2 separate regions of the Homo sapiens genome follow, and region 2 is linked to region 1. Evidence: promoter capture Hi-C in 16 types of primary human blood cells and fetal thymus (Javierre and others, 2016). All regions are on one chromosome and are shown on one strand. Each heading gives the region's core, a stretch centred on a gene start or on the middle of the fragment in contact. The rest is flanking DNA. Distances are from core to core; before and after follow the strand shown.

What was found. Contacts are between HindIII fragments. The CHiCAGO score rates a contact against its expected background, and 5 or more counts as called.
Region 2: a fragment that was not itself captured here is called in contact with the fragment with the promoter of MC2R in region 1 in 1 of 17 cell types (neutrophils); the score reaches 7.8 in neutrophils.

The regions. Positions count from the first base shown.
Region 1 is chr18:13,911,734-13,917,270 of GRCh38, reverse strand. It overlaps MC2R (melanocortin 2 receptor), which reads left to right and starts at 1,735. Exons shown (of 2, transcript NM_000529.2): 1 at 1,735-1,783. The HindIII fragment of the contact is 17,945 bases long and covers 1-4,132 here.
Region 2 is chr18:13,954,873-13,960,428 of GRCh38, reverse strand. No RefSeq gene overlaps it. Among named protein-coding and RNA genes, the nearest start is that of MC2R, 42 kb to the right of the region's middle. The HindIII fragment of the contact is 3,230 bases long and covers 2,027-5,256 here.

The sequences.
Region 1 (5,537 bases), core at 486-2,985:
GCTGAATGGGTTTCCCTACAGCAAAGATATTTCTTTTAAAATACCACTATTTCAAGAGTGTTTGGACAGGGTTATAACAAAAACCATAGGTATTGGCATATGGTTTTAGATTTCCCTGAGCACTGTTACAAACCTAGTCTGAATTCTCACAACAGCCCGCTTTACACCAGGCAATGGAGTCCTAGAGGCCTGGCACTCAGAACTCTGACCGCGTGTCTTCTGGTTCTAAACTCTGTCATTTCTACTCTGCTCCTTCCAAGAGATTTTTGCCCCCTTTTCTCTAAAAATTGGAGAGAGATGAGCCCCCAAAATGGAAGAACTAAAATAGCAATAGCTACTCTCTTTGCAGGGCTTAGCCAAACCCCTAGGCAACCTTCCCCCTGCTGGAAGTCTCTCCCTGTCCCTCCCAATCAGAGTGGCCCAGGTCCCACCCAGGGGACTGGCCGAGGCTCGCCTCCTCCAGACAGTGTTCCCATTGTCTGCAGCCTGCCTGATGTCCCACTCCCCAGGGCTGGCCACCGGTTTTCCCAATCAGCTAATCAGATCCACAGATCTCTGACAAAGGGCCTCTGCTTCTGCAAGTACAAGGGCTAAGGACGAGTTGTCTCTACTTTTCCAGATAATACAGTAGCTTTCTGGAGGCAATGCCTTGCTTTTCTCTGTTATCTCAACTACATGACTGAAGAGGGAAAGAGGCCTGTGGAACGCCGGGTTTCAGCTGCAGGGCATGTTGCGGAGGCACACACCTACTCAGAAACAGTCGAAGTCTGGGATGATCCTGGGTCCATGAGTTCCTGGGGACAACACGCTTTGCCTCAGTGACAGGCCAGGAAAAGCCACTTTATAAAATTGTGTTTACCCGCCTGGCAAATTCAACTCAGGTCTCTCTCTTTGGTCTTTTCCAGACCACCCACGTGTGAACACTTTTTAGCTTGGGGCGGAAGCTCACATTTCAGAAACAGCCACTGGTTTGGCCCCAGCCCCAAAAACCCAGGACCATCTGGAAACTTGGCCCAATTCCACACTTCAACATTCCTGTTGCTGTGACTGACACCAACAGTAGCCCTTCCCTGCAGGCCCCGGCAGGCAGAAAACACACAGCATTGCACCCTAAAATGGAAGAATTTTGCTTTGAATGATGGCTCTTATCTATGGCGGTTTCTGTGAAGTTTTTGGACGGAGAAGCATTGGCAGAACACAGGGTTTTTTTCTTGTCTGGACCCATGCGTCATATGTGCACTTGAGCACACAGTTCCCTCACTCTCATTGTTTAGTCTTGTGAAATAGGGATAATGGGGCTATTCCCTTCTTCTTAATGAAACTAATGAGCCAAATATTTGCAAGATATATCAAGAAGTTTGCTAGAAGTTTTAAAACAAATTCTTCCAAAACCATTTTCTCAAAAACCTGATTTATTTAATTCCTTAGTTCTTTTTGGAAATAAATGCAACTCTAAAGTGGCATTTAAAAAGAGCAAGATGACAATTCCATAATCTGCTAGAAACATTGTCATAAACATTGGAAGTAACCTTGACTAGCTGAGCTCATGGAAATTATGTCTTCATCTGCCTGTGTCTTTCCATTTCTCTAACTTCACATTACCAGAAATGCACAGTTCATGTGGGATGACATTTATTCAAGGTAATGATAACAATCTAGCTGTATCTCCGGTGATGCATGTGTTCCGGCCCTTCCCGGCCCAAGGTCCACTTGCTTGCTTTTCTCTCCGAGCTCATTCCTTCTCATTCATTTTGCCCAGAAAGTTCCTGCTTCAGAGCTGAAGGTAAGTACATTTTCCACTAATTCCTCAGCTTGCTAAGTGCTTTTGGACCATGAATAGAGCAGCTAGGAACAAATCTGAGAAGAGGTACTATTCAGAATTCCTCCAAATAGCTCATCTTTTTAATTATGGGCTTTCATCCTTCCTAAGGGAGTTTATTATTTTTCTAATTAAACTACTACAATGAAGGCTATTACCTTTTTGTCTAGCTAAAACAATCTTCCCTATTAATGAATTTATTGGCTTCTCTAGTACTCTTCAAATTGTCATTGAGCTCTATTCAAGGACTACAGCCAGTTTTTTCCTAATAGAATTAGGGGTGAAACAAATCATGCTTCTATTATCACTTCTGGAGTTAGCCCCTTCACCTGATCAGCTTGTCTAGGTGTAAGAGTGCGGGGGTTTTAGCGCCACAAAGACGTGGGCATGCGGCAGCTTCCTGAACCTCAGGCATTGGTGTCTAAGCAACTCCACCATCCACACGTGTGACGTTACAGTTCTGGGAGATGCACGCACACTTTCTGTGCCTTTCTCAACCACTAGCTCAGTCAGCCTCCACCTTCCTAGGCAGCAACACGGGGTGCAGGATAAACAATAACTAAAAGCATACTGATTATCACATACTCCTGCAAAGTGTTTGCACCCAGAAAGCATGCAGTCACTGCCATCATGAGGGGCTCACACCTTCCTTTGGCTGGCTCTGTCGGGGGGCACATGTTACCTAGAAAAGAGGCCCAGGCATTCGATTAAACAGCTCTTCTTCATATTTCAGTTTGTCTAAGCTGCCTTCAGATAACTGTCCCCATTCTTCACTTACACACACACACTCATACACACACATATACACACATACACGTGCACACTTGTAAACATACATACATACATGCATGCAAAAAGTCCAAAAGGGATAGGAATGGGAAAGGGGTACAAAGGGGTCCAGAGAGTACAGCCTTGAGCAGATCAGAAGGAGGAGTGCTCCTCACATGCCCTCCCCACCCCATCCCCGGAGTGGGAGTGAAGCGGTGGTCACAGGCTCTGCTCACACATTCATGCCTAGATCAAGCTGTACCGAACCCTTATGTGCTGGGCCTTGTTGCAAGCCTAAGTCAGAGTGGAGCCTCCTGGAGCCCCGGCGCTGAGGACAGCGCACACTGAGACAACACTTCACACTAGCTCCCAGACAGGACACACACCCACAAAGAGCTGTGGGAGCAGGGAGACGGGAGCCCTCACCCTGCCTTTGGGACACCGCTTAGGCCGCGGCAGGGGTGGAGGAGGGCATGAACCAGGGTAATGGGGTAGATAAGCTCCAAAGCCATCCTGACTTCTCAGTGGATCCTGAATCTCTGGCAGAGGAGGTTTTTGCTCAGCAGCAAATTGCCCTCTCACTGCCTCAGAGCAACTTAAGACATCTTAAAAAAAAAAAAAAATCCTATTCTTTACCTTGTTAATGATCCCAGGTATGTTTCCTATGGAATCCTTAGTGTCTAATACATTTTAATGAGAGCTTTCTTGTCTGTGTAAGCCACATTCCTTGCCTTCATTAGGCAAATATAATTGCTGTGGGCCAGGTTGTCTGCAGGGCTCAGCCTCAGACATGGTCAGGGCAGGTCTTATCCTAAGGAACTCAGATCCATCTGCAGGGTTTTCATGTGAATAATGCCGTTGTAGAAATAAGAACAAACAGCTACAGGTGCATAGACGGGCAGCAATCCTGGGCTCCCTTGGGATGCGGGGGCAGTGGAAGAGAGTCTGTACTTGGGCAAGGACACAGTGCTGAGTGTGAGAAGTGAGGAAGGACGTGTCCAGGCCCAGGGAGAGAGAACGTGTGAACAGACAGGCAAGCGCTGGTGCAGACCCACCCAGTGGGCCTTAAAGTGTGGTGGAGTCCTAAAGTCTTAACTTCTCTGTTCTCTGACTATGAGCCGCCAGGGTACAAAATTTGGAAGATGGTTTTAAAGTAAGTTCTCAACTCAAAATATGCGTGTGCCAAGCGCTGTGCTAGCAGCATGGGTAACGCACAGAGCCTGACTTGGTGGGAGAACAACATGTGCAAACTACAGAGACTAATCAACCTAGTAGGTGTCCCAGCATCAAAACCTGGGGGCAGCAAGCGTTTGTGTGAGCAGCACAGCCGTGGCAGGGAAAGGTCCGAGTGGGTCACACTGGCAGGAAGGCACCGTGGAGGAAGCCTGCCATGAGCAGTGAAGCTCAGAGGACGGGAGATGTGAGCGGGTGGAAGGTGGTGGTCCAGGTGAGGCTGTGCAGGGAGCTGAGCATCACACTGATTTCCAACCAGAACACTCCAGCCTGGGCTTCATGCCTCCCTAGCTGTGAGCTCCTGCAAAAGCTTCCATTCTCGGGACTTTCCTTCGCTCGTCCTAAGATGTGATCACATTGTCATTCATGCCTAATTTCCAGTCTTGTGTATATTAAAAAAGAAATTATACTGTAAGCAGCAGTTCTCTGTGAAGTGTCGGAAAAGCTGTAAACCTGCCCAGCGGCCTGCAAGATGATCACACCGAGAGATGCTTCTGCCTGTGCCCGGCATGGGGAAAAAGAATAAAGCCACCCCCAAAATAAGGCTCCCTTGAAGGCCTCTCATAATTGAGCCTATGCGGAATTCAAAACAAGATGTGCGCTGGATTCAGATGAGCCATTGCCTACCATAGCGAGCTCTGCTGGCTGCAGCCAGTCTTCACAGTGATAAGCGTAACTTATAACTCTGTAAGATCAACATCAGTAAGTTCAAGGAAAACTGACTTCAGCTGGAGACAGTGACTGGGCCCTAGCAAAGCAGTTGGGATGGTCCGGGAGCAGAAAACAACGTAGAAATTCATCTGTCCTTGAATTTTTCCTATTTCAACAGAGTATTGATTAATTGATTAATAATAATCTACAAGTTTTATTATGGTGCTATGTTGTTATTTTGTTTTATTTAGCACCAAAACAGCCTCAGAGTCCTGAGCCCCTCAGTTCCCAGCTCCTCCCACAGCTCTTGGCCCAACCTGACCCGGTCCTCCTACCCATACCTGTTTCAGAGCTAGGCTTGTCCTGCTTCCAAACACTCAGCCTCTCAGGCTCTTTGGAATAACCAAGCGAGCACAGACCTTGGAATGAGGCAGATTCGCAGCTGGGTGACCTTAAGCAAGTAACCCAACCTCCCTGAGCCTCCGTTTTCTTATCTATAATATAGGCAGGGGAGCAGGAAATAGGAACACCTACCCTTTATGTGTAACTGGAGCATTAAGAGAGAATACCTTTCACTCTGCCCTGTCTCCAACCTTTAACATTGCAAGAGAAACCATGGCAAAATCAAATTGCCCTTAAAGTGCAGAATTGTAAGGATGTGCTGAGGTATCCTGGAATCTGCTGTTTTACCTGGTTGAGTATTAAGTAAAATTGCTGAACATGCATTGTGGGCCCAACACAGTACAGAATGAATTACCTAAAGCACTCGTAAGTGAAGCCAATTCTTTTCCATGCCATCCACACCATGGAGCAGTTCTGACCCCAATTTGCAAGTGACCAAAGGCTCACCTGTCCTCTTTCTCAGCTGTGCATGTCTTACCTCCTCAGCTAGATGTTCATAGGCAGTACGGTGTTTCCTGTATCTTTTGGATTTCCAATGACATATAACCTAAAATTGGATCCTAGAGGTGCTAAAAACTGCCAATTCTTTAAGTGATTACTTGGATTAAAGCCCCCAAAAGATCTTAAATCTTTCTTCCTCCTGCCCTCCTCATATGCCCCAATC
Region 2 (5,556 bases), core at 2,392-4,891, 41 kb before region 1:
TGAAGATAGACCAATAGAAACTTCCCAAACTTAAATGTAGAGAGAAAAAAATAATAAAAAACAAAGCTAGGACAGAATATCCAAGAACTGTAGGACAATCTCAAAACGTATAACAGGTGTAACTGGAATATTAGAAGAAGGGAACATAGCAGCAGAAATATTTTAATAATAGCTGTGAACTTTCTAAAATTATTGCAGAAAACCAGAGACAATGGGAAAATCTTGAAAGAAGCTGGAGAAAATACTTTACCTACAGAGGAACAAGCATAAGAATCACAGCACACTCCTCATCAGAAACCATGTAAGCAAGAAAAGAATGAAGTTAAATATTTAAAGTGTTGGAAAAAAATTTTCCACAAACTTGGAATTCTATATTCAGCAAAATTATTCAACACAAGTGAAGGATCCTAGGTATGTGCCCAAAAGAATTGAAAACAAGTACTCAATGAAATACCTATGCATTCATGTTCATAGCAGCACTGTCCAAGTAGCCAAAAGTGGGAAATAGCCTAAATGTCCATCAATGGATGAATGGATAAAAGAATTGTAGTGTATACATATGATAGAATTTTATTTAGCCATAAAAAGGAATAAACTCTTTTTTGTAGGATAGTTTTGTTGCATATAAAATTCTTGGTTGAAATGTTTTTTTCATTTACCAATTTGAATATGGTTTACCAATGTTTTGGGACTCTGTTATTCCTACTATACACTATTATACATGGTTGAATATGAATAAGCTGACAGAATTTATGCTAACTGAAAGCAACCAAACACAAAAGGTCACAAGTCTTGATTTCAGCCCTGGCTAGGGGATTTCTTCTTTGGATATTCTATCTCAACCTTAGAAGTAGTGGCTGCTCCTTATATTACTTTACTTCTTACTCATCAATACCCTGTTACTCCAATCCTTTGTGATAGTTAATAACTCTTAATATTAAACTTTCTCTTCTCAAATTACTGTATAGATTCTGTCTCATGATTTGACCCTAGGTGATACACCTATTAATATTATTTGTAATGAGAAGTCAACAATTTAATGTACCTTTTTCGCCTCTTAAGTGATATGTCATTTTTCTCTCAGTGCATTTAGTATCTCTTTTTTTTATCTGTTATCTTTATCTTTTTATCTTTCAGCAATTTGACTAAAGGTTGTAATTTTTCTTTTGTTCATTTAAAAAAATTCCTTAATATGGAAATGCTACATAAAGACCTTCATGCCTAAGAGAACAGGTCTGCTAAAAACAATTTATTTGTTTTTGGTTATCTGAAAATGCCTTTCTTTTGCCCCTCCTTTTTTTGTGGGATAGTTTTGTTGGATATAAAATTCTTAGTCAAAAGATTTTTTTTCATGTACTAATTTGAATATGACTTTCCAATGTTTTGGGACTCTATTAATATTATTTCTAATGAGAAGTCAGCAATTTAATGTATCTTTTTTGTCTCTTATGTGATGTGTCATGATTTTCTCAGTGCATTTAGTATCTCTTTTTATCTTTTATCTTTATCCTTTTTCAGCAATTTGACTAAAAGTTGTAATTTTTCTCTTGTTTATTTCACTTGAGATTTGTTGAACTTCTTGGAATTGTAACTCAAAATTTTTTGCCAAACTTAAGACATTTTTAGCCACTATTTCTCCACATATTTTTTATCCTATTTTCTCTGCCCCCTTCCTTTTGGATCATCAATTACATGGATGTTGGGATGACTGACATTGTCCCACAGGTCTCTGAGGCTCTATCCACTTTTCTCACTGTTCTTTAGATTGGGTAATTTCTATTAATATAGCTTCATGTTATGAGCTTTTTCTTCTGCCATACCAAATCTACTTTGAGGTCATTTTAGTAAATTTGTCATTTATTTTACTTTTTAGCTCTAGATTTTCTATTTAATTTCATGTCATAGTTCCTGTACCACTCTGGATGTTCCATATTTGTTCACTTACTATTAGTATATTTCCCTTTAATCCATTGAACATATTTCTCCTTAACTTTTTTGGATATTTATAATAGCTATGTTGAAAGCTTTATCTACTACCTCCAACTTTTGCACTCAATTAGGGTTGGTTATTAGTGGGTGCTTTTTTCACCTCTGTAATTGTTACACTTTTCTCATTCATTAAAAACCTAGTAATTCTAGTTGAAAATTGGATATTGTATATAATTTGTTGTAGAGGCTCTCAATTCTTAATAGTCTCTAATAAGTCCAGTTATATCAGCACTGTTTATTTATTTATTGAATAGGAAGTTCTTTCCCCATCACTCATTTTTGTCCACTTTGTTGAAGAGCAGATTATTATTGGCGTGTACCTTTCTTTCTGAGTCCTCTATTCTGTTCCATTGGTATATGTGTCTGTTTTTGTACCACTACCATGCTGTTTTGGTTACTGTAGCCTTGTAGAATAGTTTGATGTTAGGTAACATGATGCCTCGGGGGCTTTGTCCTTTTTGCTTAGGATTGCTTTGGCTACTTGGGCTCTTCTTTTGGTTCCATATAAATTTTAGAATTTTATTTTTAAATTTGTGAAAAGCATCATTGGTAGTTTGACAGGAATAGCATTGAATCTGTAAATTGCTTTAGGTAGTATGGCCATTTTAACTATATTGATTCTCCCTATCCGTGAGCATGGAATGTTTTTCCATTTGTCTGTGTTATCTCTGATTTCCTTCAACAGTGTTTTGTAATTCTTATTGTAGAGATCTTTCACCTCCCAGGTTAGCTGTATTCCTAGGTTTTTTTGTTCTTTTTGTGGCTATTGTGAATGGTATTGCATTCTTGATTTGGCTCTCAGCTTCGATGCTGTTAACGTACAGAAATGCTACTGAATTTTTGCATTGATTTTGTTTTGATTTTGTATCCTGAAACTTTAATTGTTTATCAGATCTGGGAGCTTTTGGGCAGAGATTATGAGGTTTTCTAGATATAGAATTACATCATCTGGAAACAGAGATAATTTGACTTCCTCTTTTCCTATTTGGATGCCTTTTTTTTTCTTTCTCTTGCCTGATTGCTCTGGCTAGGACTTCCAGAACTGTGATGAATAGAAGTGGTGAGAATGGGCATCTTTGTCTTGTTCCAGTTCTTAATGGGAACACTTCCAGCTTTACCCATTTAATATGATGTTGGCTGTGGGTTTGTCATAGATGGCTCTTATTATTTTGAGGTATGTTGTTTCAATGCTTAGTTTGTTGAGGGTTTTTAACAGGAAAGGATGTTGAATTTTATTGAAAGCCTTTCTTAGCATCTATTGAGATAATTATGTGGTTTTTAAATTTTAGTTATGCTTGTGTAATGAATCACATTTACTGATTTGTGTACATTGAACCAACTTTGCATCCCAGGGGTAAAGCCTACTTGACTGTGGTGGATTAGCTTTTTGATGTGCTGCTGAATTTTGTTTGCTAGTATTTTGTTGAGAACTTTTGCATCTATGTTCATCAAAGGTATTGGCCTGATGTTTTGTTTTGTTTTGTTTTGTTTTGTTTTGTTTTGTTTTGTTGTGTCTCTGCCAGGTTTTGCTATCAGAATGATGCTGGCCTCATTAATGAGTTAAGGAGGAGTGCCTCCTCCTCAATTTTTTGAAATAGTTTCAGTAGGAATGTTACCAGCTCTTCTTTATATATCTGGTAGAATTTGCCGTGAATCTATCTGGTCCAGTACTTTTTCTGGTTGGTAGGCTTTTTATTACTTAATTATAGAACTTGTTATTGGTCTGTTCAGGATTTCAATTTCTTCCTGGTTTAACCTTGGGAGGTTGTATACTTCCAGGAATTTATACATTTCTTGTAGGTTTCTAGTTCATGAGCATAGAGGTATTTATACCAATCTCTGAGGGTGCTTTGAATTTCTGTGGGGCCAGTGGCAATGTCACCCTTGTCATTTGTGATTATGTTTGGATCTTCTCTCTTTTTTTCTTTATTAATCCAGATAGTGGTCTATCAATATTATTTATTCTTAAAAAAAACTTTTGGTTTGTTGATCTTTTACATAGACTGTCACATCTTAATTTCTTTCAGTTCAGCTCTGATTTTAGTTATTTCTTGTCTTCTGCTAGCTTTGGGGTTGGTTTGCTGTTGTTTTTCTGGTTCCTGTAAGTCTAATGTTAGGTATTTAATTTTAGATGTTCCAACTTTTTGACGTGGAAATTTAGTTAATGCTATAAACTTTCCTTTTAATACTGCTTTGGCTGTGTCCCAGATATTGTGCTTTGTTGTATATTTGTTTTCATTAGTTTCAAAACATTTCTTGATTTCTGCCTTAATCTCATAGTCTACCCAAAAGTCATTCAGGAGCAGGAGGTTTAATTTCCATGTAATTGTATAGTTTTGTGCAATCTTCTTAGTATTGATTTATTTTATTTTATTGTGGTTGGTATAATTTTTTTTAATTTGCTGAAAATTGATTGCTGATTGTGTGGTGGATTTTAGAGTATGTGCCACGTGCAGATGAGAAGAATATATATTCTGTTGTCTTGGGTGGAGAGTTCTGTACATGTCTGTTAGGTCCATTTGGTCAAGTGTCAAGTTCAGGTCTTAAATATCTTTTTTCTGCCTCAATGTTCTACTTCTTTTCTGCCTCAATGATCTAGTACTGTTATCTGCTTCAATGATCTAATACTGTCAGTGGAATGTTGAAGTCTCCCATTATTGTGCAGTTATCTAAGTCTCTTTGTAAGTCTCTAAAAACTTGTTTTATGTATCTGGGTGCTCCTGTGTTACATGCACATATATTTAGGATAGTTAAGTCTACTTGTTGAATTGAATCCTTTATCATTATGTAATGCTCTTCTTTGTGTTTTTGGATTATTGTTGGTTTAAAGTTGTTTTGCTTTTTTATGTTTTCTGTTTGCTTGACAGATTTTCCTCCATCACTTTACTTTGAACCTATGGGTGTCATTTCATGTGAGCTGGGTCTCTTGAAGACAGCATACCACTGGGTCTTGCTTCTTTATCTAACTCGCCACTCTGTGCCTTTTAATGGGCATTTAGCCCATTTACATTTACAGTTAATATTGATATGTGTGGATTTGATCCTGTCATTGTGGTGTTAGCTGCTTATTATGCAAATTTGATTGTGTAGTTGCTTTATGGTGTCAATGGTCTATGCACTTATGTGTGTCTTTGTGGTGACTGATCTTTCATTTCCATATTTAGCACTTTGTTAAGGGTCTCTTGTAAGGCAGGTCTGGGGGGTAATGAATTCTCTTAGCATTTCCTTGCCTGAGAAAGATCTTATTTCTTCTTCAGTTACAAAGCTTAGCTTGACCAGGTGTGAAATTCTTGGTTGGAATTTCTTTTTTTTAAGAATGCTAAATATAGGCCTCTAATCTCATCTGGCGTGTAGGGTTTCTGCTAAAAAGTCTACAACCCTGGCTTTGCTCTCTGGCCTCTCAAGGTTAGTACCAGCTTCATTGGAGGGGCCAAGGTGTTCCCAGTCCACTGACAACAACACTCTGATAGGGGGGTGCCAGCCAAGCACTTCATCAGGGCATTGGCAGTGGGATCCATGCTCACTCATGCATGTCAGCAGCAGCACAATTGGCTGTCTATAGGTTTT